2 separate regions of the Homo sapiens genome follow, and region 1 is linked to region 2. Evidence: promoter capture Hi-C in human tissues and cell types (Jung and others, 2019). All regions are on one chromosome and are shown on one strand. The core of a region is centred on a gene start or on the middle of the fragment in contact, and the rest is flanking DNA. Distances in the headings are between cores, read along the strand shown.

The links. Contacts are between HindIII fragments. The study calls those that stand out against the background at their distance.
Region 1: a fragment that was not itself captured here is called in contact with the fragment with the promoter of ABCC9 in region 2 in 4 of the 25 tissues and cell types used here (heart left ventricle, mesendoderm cells, neural progenitor cells and 1 more).

What each region holds. Positions count from the first base shown.
Region 1 is chr12:21,989,374-21,994,417 of GRCh38, forward strand. No RefSeq gene overlaps it. Among named protein-coding and RNA genes, the nearest start is that of ABCC9, 50 kb to the left of the region's middle. The HindIII fragment of the contact is 9,375 bases long and covers 1-5,044 here.
Region 2 is chr12:21,937,455-21,942,753 of GRCh38, forward strand. ABCC9 (ATP binding cassette subfamily C member 9) reads right to left here and starts at 3,972. Exons shown (of 40, transcript NM_020297.4): 1 at 3,746-3,972; 2 at 3,256-3,371. RefSeq lists an enhancer at 3,405-4,382. The HindIII fragment of the contact is 18,026 bases long and covers 1-5,299 here.

The DNA of each region.
Region 1 (5,044 bases), core at 629-3,128, 50 kb after region 2:
CTACCTACCTCATTAGGGTCATAATAAACTGTACATAACAATACATTTAAAGCCAAGGACAGGCACTTAGTACATGGTAGTCATCATTCTGTCCTCAGTACTAAAATTTTTGCATAATTCTTTGTCTTCCATTCAAAATTTTTTGAATTTTTCAAAAAGTTCTTATCAGAAAATAACACAGCATGTCCTGTGCATTATATAGTTATTCATTCTAAAAGTACTGTGTTTTCAAGGGTCTGGTCATTGCCCAGGTCAAAATTGTATTGCTTGTGGCCAAAAACGTTTCTACCCACTTATTCTTGTCTTATCCTTGCTGATTGGTGGCACTTGTCAATAAATATTGGCAGTAAAGTCTTTGAGAGTGATGTCTCCTAGTCTCCTAGATACTGTTTAATGTAGATTTCAAGCCCTATTCTTGGAAAAAAATCCCTCAAAAAGATTTCAGTTCTCCAAAGCGGTATCTCCAGCTTTCCCTAACTTTACTGACGGGTTAGCCACTCACCTCCACACACTGTTAGACATTCTACCTCCTTTCAGCCATATTTTTTTTCTGAAATTTTGTGATTTTCAATATTGCTATAATAATAGTGAAGCTCACATTTTCATAGCTTTTCTTCTGCACTGTTGCTCCCTCTAGTGCTGAGTTGAGAGACTGGATATTCGTAAGACAATGTAAAAATTTTCCTAATTTAACTAATAGAAAAGTTAACTGTGGAAAAAAAATATGTTATTAACACATTGAAAGTATTTCTACATGCCAGGGCTAGGGTACCATTCGTTACCATATCTCCAGCAGCCAGTGCAGCATTGACTCCTAACAAATATGCTTTGAACCAAACTGCTGAGAGAATACATAGGACGGAAAAAAAATTAAGACTCTATCTCTATCTTAACTTTTTTAATTCAAGATGTGCCTTTTATAGTGACACCTAAAGTTTTAGAAAGATCTTATCATAGAACAGCATTATTTAGCTAGCTATGAAAAATGAAATAATGCCAGGCACAGTGGCTCACACCTGTAATCCTAGCACTTTGGGAGACCGAGGCGGGCAGAACACAAAGTCAGGAGCTCAAGACCAGCCTGCCCAACATGGTGAAACCCTGTCTCTACTAAAAATACAAAAATTAGCCGGGCGTGGTGGCATGCGCCTGTAATCCCAGCTACTCAGGAGGCTGAGGCAGGAGAACTGCTTGAACCTGGGAGGCGGAGGTTGCAGTGAGCTGAGATCGCGCCACTGTACTCCAGCCTGGGTGACAGAGTGAGACTCCATCTCAAAAGAAAAAGAAAAATGAAATAAGTAATTCTTCAGAATATTTGTCATAAGAATAAGGTATGTGATTCAAATATATGTAGAAAGAAGCAGCTTAGCAGTTTCTAACTTAGCGGGAATTCTGACATTTGGATGTTGTGCACACAGACTTTTGAGGAATTCTTCTGCATACCACAAGCTAGAGCTACTAAACTTCTGTGAATCCCACAGTCTGTTGTTGGGGATAGCTGCTGGCAAAGCTTACTTCACTCAATGCGATCTACCCTATCAGAGTTATCTTCAACTCTTGTCTCAATAGTCAGCCATTTGCTTCCAGTATTGTCTTTACTTTTCACCTCTCCTGCTTAATGCTCCCAAATCCAAACAGCTCCATTTTACAGTTGAGCATACTTTATTCACTTTACTCTTTAACCTGCAGGTTGTTGGCTAGGATCCTCTCTACAATACTCACTTCAGATTTGGAGCAGGATTCTCCATTTAAAGCAACAGGGGCAGGAAGACATCCACGTTTTGCATGACAGGTCATATACTATTCAATATGTTATAAGATACCTATATACATCTAACAGGCATTCTATTGATTTTTATAATACAGTCTACAGAAAGTAAATTTAACAAAATTGCCTTCGCTGGTGAGAAAACATAGATTCCCCAGTGACTTTCAACTATGCCCTCAAGGGCCATGTCAAAATCCCTGAAAGTGGATGGTCATAAAATTTTTGTGTTAATCCATGGGTTTTCAATAGTTGAGAAGTAGGGGTCTAATTTAGAGGGGACTGTCTAAAGAGGTATGAGGGTTTAAGTCTATGACCTTATTAAACTCTAAGACTGATTGCTCACAATTACACAATCCAGCTACCAAAAAGTAATTTCAGAATAACTCAATATCTTTACTTTTATTTCACAAACACTGTGAAGTTTATACATAGACCCCTCTTCTTTTCCATCTTTCTTTCCTCCATTCCACAGTCTTTCATATTATTTGTCCTGCGCCTGTCACTTTTTTCCTTATTCTGCAAAGCTCAGAAGAACCCAGATGGCAAAAAGCAGAACTATTCACAGAAGGTGAAGGAAAGAAGACTTGGCAGATTGGTAGACAGAGTTAGAATCTCTTAGGTCAGCAAAAGTTAAAAAAAAAAAAAAAAAAGAAGGTTAAGAACACACACACGTATTTGCACATATGTTAAAATGTTTTGACCCATCACATAAATGTGTGTGAATTGGGGGTGAGGACAAAAAAAAGATGGAAAGACACATTTCTGTCTCTTACACGACGGAGGAAACAAAATACCTCTGGTCATTTCTATTCTGATTATTCACTGCATGTTTAAATAAGGTTTAAAGAGACTCTCAATGCCTCTCTAAATTATGGAAGCAAGTAGCTGATTCTTAGCTTTCTTGTAAATTTCACAAAGACTCCTTTGAGGGAAAGCCACAGTCTCCTAGAAGCTGTTAACTTGCTTTAAATCAATTGCATTAAACCAATTGCATGAGCAATTGGTTTAGAGTTAGGAAATTTTATTATCGCTTTAACCACAAGAGTATGCAAAAAGATAAGACAAGATTCTAGTGTAATAAAGATTCCTACCTAGCCGGCTAGTAATCTATATAGAAGAATTAGATAAGATTATTTCCAGTGTTAAATAATGCAAAATTTCAAAAATATTGCTGAAGCACATTTGGGAATCCCATACTTACCTGTGCCTCACTGTTGTTTAGACAGTTAACACTTCATCAAATGTGCTTCCTGGATTGCAAGTCCAACTATCATATTAGTTGATGCTGGATAATTTTGGTTTACTAATGCACCATTTTATGCTAGCATAAGGAGCCCTACATTTCTTAGGATGCAAGCAACTGGTTTGGAAAGGATAATTTTCCTATTTGTAAGAATATAGTAATAAAACACAGTGAATGTTTGTCTTAGAGAATTTGTCTTTTCCAATGCACAGGACAAAGAATCTTTCCCACTGTTATCTTTGAGATCCTTCTTCAGAATGTGGTTTCTACCTAGAATTCTGCTGCTACTTTCCTGTGGCTTCTGGTTCTTGAAATTGCTTGCCATATAACCAAGAGAAGGAAAGGGTATCAGTTAGGATTCGGTTCAGCTTCATAGAACAGAGACCCTACTATGGAGGCTTAAATGTGCAGGTTTATGCTCTTAAGTTTAATGAAGATTAGAGAACGCAGCTGGGGCCTGATACAGTGGCTTCCTAGAGTCGTAGGGGCCCACAGAGATCTCTGAGCTCTCCCATCCACAGTGCTTACAAATGCATTGCATCTGCATCTTAAGCAGCAGGAAGGAGGAAGTAGCAGAGAGGCCAAAGGGCACCCTCCAGCTGTCTTTTATGAAAATTTCTCAGAAGTTACACACTTCCACTTCCACTTCATTGATGGTGCTGAATAAGATCAAGGCATAAGGAAAGAGAAAGATATAGGGGCAGACAAACAACAGTCTCTGTAGCAGAACATGACGATGACACAGCATATCATCTTTTCTGATTTTAAAGCAATCAACTTAGTATTTAAATTCAATCACTCAAGATTTTCCTTTGTATCTTTACTTTTCCTCCCTTTTCTTAAAGTAAACTTAAATTTCCAGAGAACTTACATATTATGCTGCAATCAGAAGAAGGGTCTCTGCCTTAGCTATAGTGTTGCTGATCACAGCAAGACTTTTTATTGCCATCATGAGGCCGGTATTACTGCTGAGTCTATGCTTTCTCTGTGGTCCTTGGTCGTGAAGTTCATACACTCCAAATCCTACTCATTCCAACCTCAGGTCTCTTTAGGGCCTTCAATCTTCTGCCGTTTGTAAGGTTGGAGATTCTGCCCTTGCCCATGGTTAGGATAGGAGAGGCTATGCTGCAGAGAAAAGAAAAGAAAAGAAAAGAAAAGAAAGAGAAGAGAAAGGGAGGGAGGGAGGGGAGGGGAGGGGAGGGAAGGGAAAGGAAGGGAAGGGAAGGGAAGGGAAGGGAAGGGAGACTATCCCCAAATCTCAGTGATTGAACACACAAAAGTTTATTTCTAACTCACACTGCATGTCTGTCGAGGTTTCTGGAAGCCTCTGTATAGTCACTCAGAAGCCTAGTCACTGTGCATAGTCACTCAGTTGGTTTGTAGAACCTTCCTCAGCAAGGCCTCTGCTGTAGTGGGGTCTTTGAGTGACTATGCAGTCACTCAGAGGCCATGCTGAGGAAGATTCTGCCAACCAACTTGTAGTCATCTTATCTAGACCATGTGGTCTTCTCTGTCACTATGGTAGGGGAAGAGAGACTGGAGAATCACCTTGGGTTTTTGCTATCAGCTCCCTAATTGATACAGCATCACTTCCTGCCAGGGATTGAATGTTTGTGTCCCCCAACATTCATATGTTGGAACCCTCTCCCCTAAAGTGATAATATTTAGAAGTGAGGACTATGGAGGCTAATTATATCTAGATGAGGCCATGAGGCTGGGGTCCTCATGATGGGATTGGTGTCTTTATAGGAAGAGACCAGAGCCAACTTCCTCTCTGCCTCTGCCATGTGAGGATACAGCAGAATGGTGGCCATCTGCAAACCAGAAAGAGGGCTCTCACCAGACACCAAATATGCTTGCACCTTGATCTTGGACCTTCCAGCCTGAGAACTGTGAGAAATAAATGCTTGTTGTTCAAGCCACCAATATACAGTATTCTATTATAGCAGCCAAACTGACTAAGACACTTCCAATCTCATTTTATTGATCAAATTAAGATATGGTCCACCTAATTGCAAGAGTAGAGGAAAATG
Region 2 (5,299 bases), core at 2,722-5,221:
TAAGTCATTGTCAGGATTGCGGCTTCTACTCTTAGTGAAGTGGGCCACTGGGGATTCCGGGGCAGAGGAGTGACGTGCTCTCACTTACATGTTAAATGGTTCTCTATTAATGCTGTGCCCAAACAGATGGGAGATGAGCAAAGGTCTGCTCCATGAAAATACTGCTGTGAAATTCCAGGAAAAGCTTTGACATTCTGAAAACTTATTTTATAATGCCTACTACTTATTTAAGTTCTGGGCACTTTGCATATCTTAAATCCTCAGAACAACCTTGTAATTCATCTTTTACAATGGAGGATACTGAGGTCCAGATAAGTTCAGTAACTTGCCAACCAGTAAAGCGGTCATGTCCACACCCAAATATCTGACTTATAAACTATTTCTTTCCACCGTATTACACAACCTCCAACCTGCTTTTTAAAGAAGCTATCGTATCTATTCTTTAAAACAAGTAGCAGTTTAAGATTTTAACCTCACTAGACCTAGTTTCTATATTTATGTCACAATGGATTCTGAGTTGCATTACAAAAGGCTGGCAAAAATTTTATTAACTAGCATAGTACCTTTTCTTTCTTTCCTTTCATTGATAATTGATTTAGCAATGGTCACAAACAATACTTTTCCTAGGAAAAAACAGTGTTATACAGAAAAGATTGTCAATGGTAGGTAAATTATTAGAGAAATCAAATTTCAAGCAAAGGTTTTATAAAGCATTATATGAATGCCTCAGCTAAAGAGTCTGTGTATTTACAATCTTAGATACTTATACAGAATGCCTCTCACATATTGTTCCTGATAAGCTCTTTTTATAATAAATAGTTGATATGCTCTCTAGTTGAGTCTTTCCCTCATCTTTTTTTAAAAAGTTGTATTTTTAAAACCTCAAGGTGAAGTTATACACTGGGTAAATTCTAACAAGCTATTAAGGTATTAATCTGGATAAAAGAATAAAAGGGACTTGAAGTTTTTAAAAAACAGCAAAATGGAAGTTATTAATTTATAGGTGTATGTTAGATGTATTTCTGGCAAAGACAGACAAAAACAAAACTAAAAACTAATAGCTAGTAATGAATTTTTTAGACTACTTCCTTTATTTAGTAGAAATGATAAAAAGAAAACTTAAAGCCCACTCTTAATTGAAAGACATATATAAACTTTCCTCGCACAAACTAGAAAATGATTTTTACTTTAGCAACTTTTATAATCTTATCCAAAATTATAATATTCCAGTTGGCCACATTTATAAACTAGTATCATTGAGGTAGATGCTAAAATATAACCTGCTGCTTTGCAAATTACACCCTTCATTAGCTATAAGCATTGCTTGCCTGGTGTTTAATCAATCCTGAAATCTACCAATTAAATCGCCTTTGGATAAATGTTGTGTGTAACTGGAAAAAAAATCTCAGAGAAGTACAATCACCTGAAAAATTTAAGAACATTTTCAGACATACACCAGATATCTGGAATTCTATGCCATTAACTAATGAACTGTAAAAACACTTATTGATGCTAACTACGTGCTAGTTACTAGGAATCCAATGGTGCACGTCAGAAACAGTTTCTGTGGTTTTATTTAGACTGTATGAATCAGATTACAGTAGTCTCAGTAGCTGTGGGTATATTGTAGGGGTATATGATCTAAAAGATAGGAAAATAAGAAATGATGCAATCAAACAAAAGTGTAAACTTCAAGTTGGTACAGTAAACGCTTTAGAACGATTTTTCTGTCTGCCATAAACTCTAACTTCACATTTCCGGCCGGCTCTGAACCTGTGCATTACCTTACCGCATGTCTCCTTTCACCTTTTCTTTTGACTCCTCATTTATCCTTTCCCTTTAACCCGTAGTCTCCTTATCCAACATCCAGAGTCCATGTGGCACTCTAACAGCCAGCCTCCATTACAACCCAACATGGACAAAAAGAGGGAGGCAGTAAACTTATTGCTGATATATTGATAATTATTGTGTTTATCAAAGGCATTTTATTCAATCCACGTTCCTAATCCTTAAATTTCCAATTGTCATTTAATGTTTCCCTCCCAGACACCAGGTTCAATTGGGAATGTTTGGGGAAGGGTATAAATCGCTGTTCTTGCTGGCTAAACTCTGTCACCTGACATCCTTCAGCTCCACCCCTTCTGGAGCTGTTTAGATTCAGCTAAGCACTGAGGGAGGCCCAAGCATCAAGGAGAGAGAGAGAAGGGAGAGCAGATGGGGAGATATAATGTTTCCCTTTCCACAAGCATAAGCCATCGAAATATGCTCAGTTGTTTATGAGAGGTGATAGAGTTGGAGAACTTGACTGAATAAACTTTAAAAACAAAGATCAAAGTGAAATTTTGCTTCTAACGTATGTCTATGGAGCAGAAAACATAAAATAGAAATACTCCTAATTATCTAACTTACGATTTCATGGCAAGAATCGCACCCTCAGTGTTTTTATTCCTCGAAATGCATTACATGAAATTCCACACATCTAGAACATATACATTTTGGATTTAGTTGGTGAATATAATACCTGACCTATCCAGTCTGTTGGTTCCTCTGCAAGACACGAGCAGTAGTTATCTGATTTAATTCTAAAAACACATTTAAGTGCTGAGGCATATAAGGTACACCATTTATTGTGGCCAGCCCTGTCCTTTGGAAATAGACTACAAGTAAAGCAAGTGAAAACTTGTCTTCCTTCCTGTTCACTTAGCAGAAAGCGTTAGTTCTGATCGAATAGCAATTGCAGAGAGTTTAAAATGCTGGAAACACCTGGAGAAAACATGCTAAATTTAAATAAAAGTTTTCATTCTTACATATAAAAGGATTCATTCTTTAATCGTTTAGAGATTAACCAAATTCTGTTATGAAAGAGAAGCAGGACATTTTAAAGAACTTAGGGCTTTATCATCATCTAGAGCATTTTCAGGATGGATGTCACTTGCAAAAACAAATGCTGTAATCACTTCTTTGAAGTTATTCAGTCCCTAGTTCATGAAATAAAAACTAGAAGATGTATAGCTAGTTAGCTAGCTACCATGGCTATAACTATGACAGATCCAAGTGGGAAAATCACTGGCAAAAATGACCACTGACTTCTGACTTAGTGCCTGATCTGAATCCACCCATTTACTCTTCAGTGGCTGTGAAGTACCATCCCACACCAAAAGAAATGTTGAAATTACTCAGTAGGTATTCCTTAGATACTGCAATGGGATTTTAAAAAAAATCCCAAACTGAACAAATAAAGCAAAAAATAAATACCTTGGGCAATAGCTTCACGCTGCTTCAAACCCCTGCCGGTGCACTTGAGCTACCTTCAAAACACCGACTTCCTACACTGTCTTAAGATGTAAATTTCAAACCCGGACGCAGAACTCCTAAAAAAAAGTAAAGAGTAACAAAAATTAAGCAGATAGAAAACTACTTCTTGAACATACAAGAATTGTCTACAAGAAAGGCGGTAATAATAACTCCTAATAATAATAACTCCTTTCACTGTTTCCAGTTGATTTGAGTAGGAGACGGCAGTTTTGAAGTAAAACTGGAAACCTGATCCCCACCCCTTCACTTCTCGAGCCGGGCCTCGTCCCTTAATTCTAGAAATAGCGATCGCGAAAGCTAAGTGCCGAGAAGTGCGAGAGAGTGCGAGGGCGTTTTTGGATAGCAGAAATGTTAGCTCAAAATCGACAACTTACAGTTATTCCTAAAAATGTTTAAATGGCATTCATGTAAAAGACACGGATTCACTTACTCCGATGACAGTTTTCCTCCCCTAGGCGAAGCACGCAGTGCGCCGGAACGGATTATTTTTAGGGTGGTGGGAGACCAGCTGCTGCCTCCTATCGAGTTTCTAAATTGCACAGACTGCTCTGGGCCGGGGCAGACACCGCGGCTGAGAAGCAGGAAACTGGGCAGAAGCCCCGCGCGCCGCGCCTGGGGCCGGAGACCTTCCCCATCCCTGCTCTGCTCAGCTTTGACTTGGGGCGGGCGCGACGCCGCGATTTTACAAACCCAAGTAATAGGCGTCCCCTTAAACTTCATTAGACACTGAAACTTGGAATATGATTCCATGATTCTCCGGAGTCGGGTTTTCAAACGTCAAAACACTCAAGGTATTCTTGTTTCTTTGTTTTGTTTTTCCATGCTCTGTAAGCACCCCTTTATTAGCCACGTAAGGAAGCGGATTTGGGGATTTCGCTGTTTCCCCCTGAACGGATCCGGGAAATGAAGGGCTCATTCTAGGTAGAGGCACCCACTGCTGGGTTATGAGTGCACGAATGTCTCACAGGAGCAAGGCTGGCTCAAGTCTAATTTTCCGCTTTTCCCCGGCGACCTAGAAAACTTGGTTTCTCTGGTGGACCAGCCGCCGCGCTATCGAAGGGCGACCCTTGCCCACCGTCCCCTAAAGTGAGACGCTGATTCCCATGGACTGCGTAAACAGTCACCCTCTTCTCCTGTTTCCAACCAGAGACATAATTAACTCTCGAGATAACGTGTTTATATTAAGATCACCCCACAACCACTCCCCCGCGAAACACAAGCCGTGAATTTTGTCCCCGACAACCCTCTTTAATTAACACCGGATTTTCTCAAGAGCCAGTTTTGAGTCAGCTTGAGATAAGCATTGTTTTCAGGAACTGTCGTATTTTAATAAAGGATGGTCAGCCGGGCGGACTTCTGCCCCTGAGGCTCCGCATGCCGTCCTCAAGGGGCGCCGCTGCAGGACTGCGGTCTGCTGGCGCTGGTCCCCAGATCTGAACCCTAAACACCGGTGGCCTCGTGGCCTGTGCGATGCAGGCCGACTCCAGCCCTGCCAGTCCCAGGGGATTTCTCCGCCGGCGCCCCACTCTTGGGAAGGTCGCTGCGCTTCCGGGTGAGTGCCTGACCTGCGTCAGCGGCTGGGACTTGAACCCGCGGCCGCTAGGAATCTGCGAGGCCATATGGGGCCGAAACCTGGGAGGGTCCGAAGACTCCGTTCCTGTGGCCTTTGAACGCTTGACAACTTTACCCTGGAGCTGTCTGCAGCGGCGCAGGGAAATAAGAGAGCGTTTCAACAGTGAGGATCCTGGTACTATGGATGCAGCCCAGGGTGGCCGGGTGAGCAAGCTGGACGCGAGGCCAGAGGCTCTCCAGGGCATCTATGGAGAGAGAACTGGAAATAGGGGGTGCCAATAATCCCAAGATGAAAACTCTTGAGTGTGACTACACAAAATGAAGTTTACTTGAGGATTATAAAAGAATATTACAATTCATTAAGGTCATTTACAATGTTTAAAAATCATGCTTATTGTAGAAACTTTGGAAG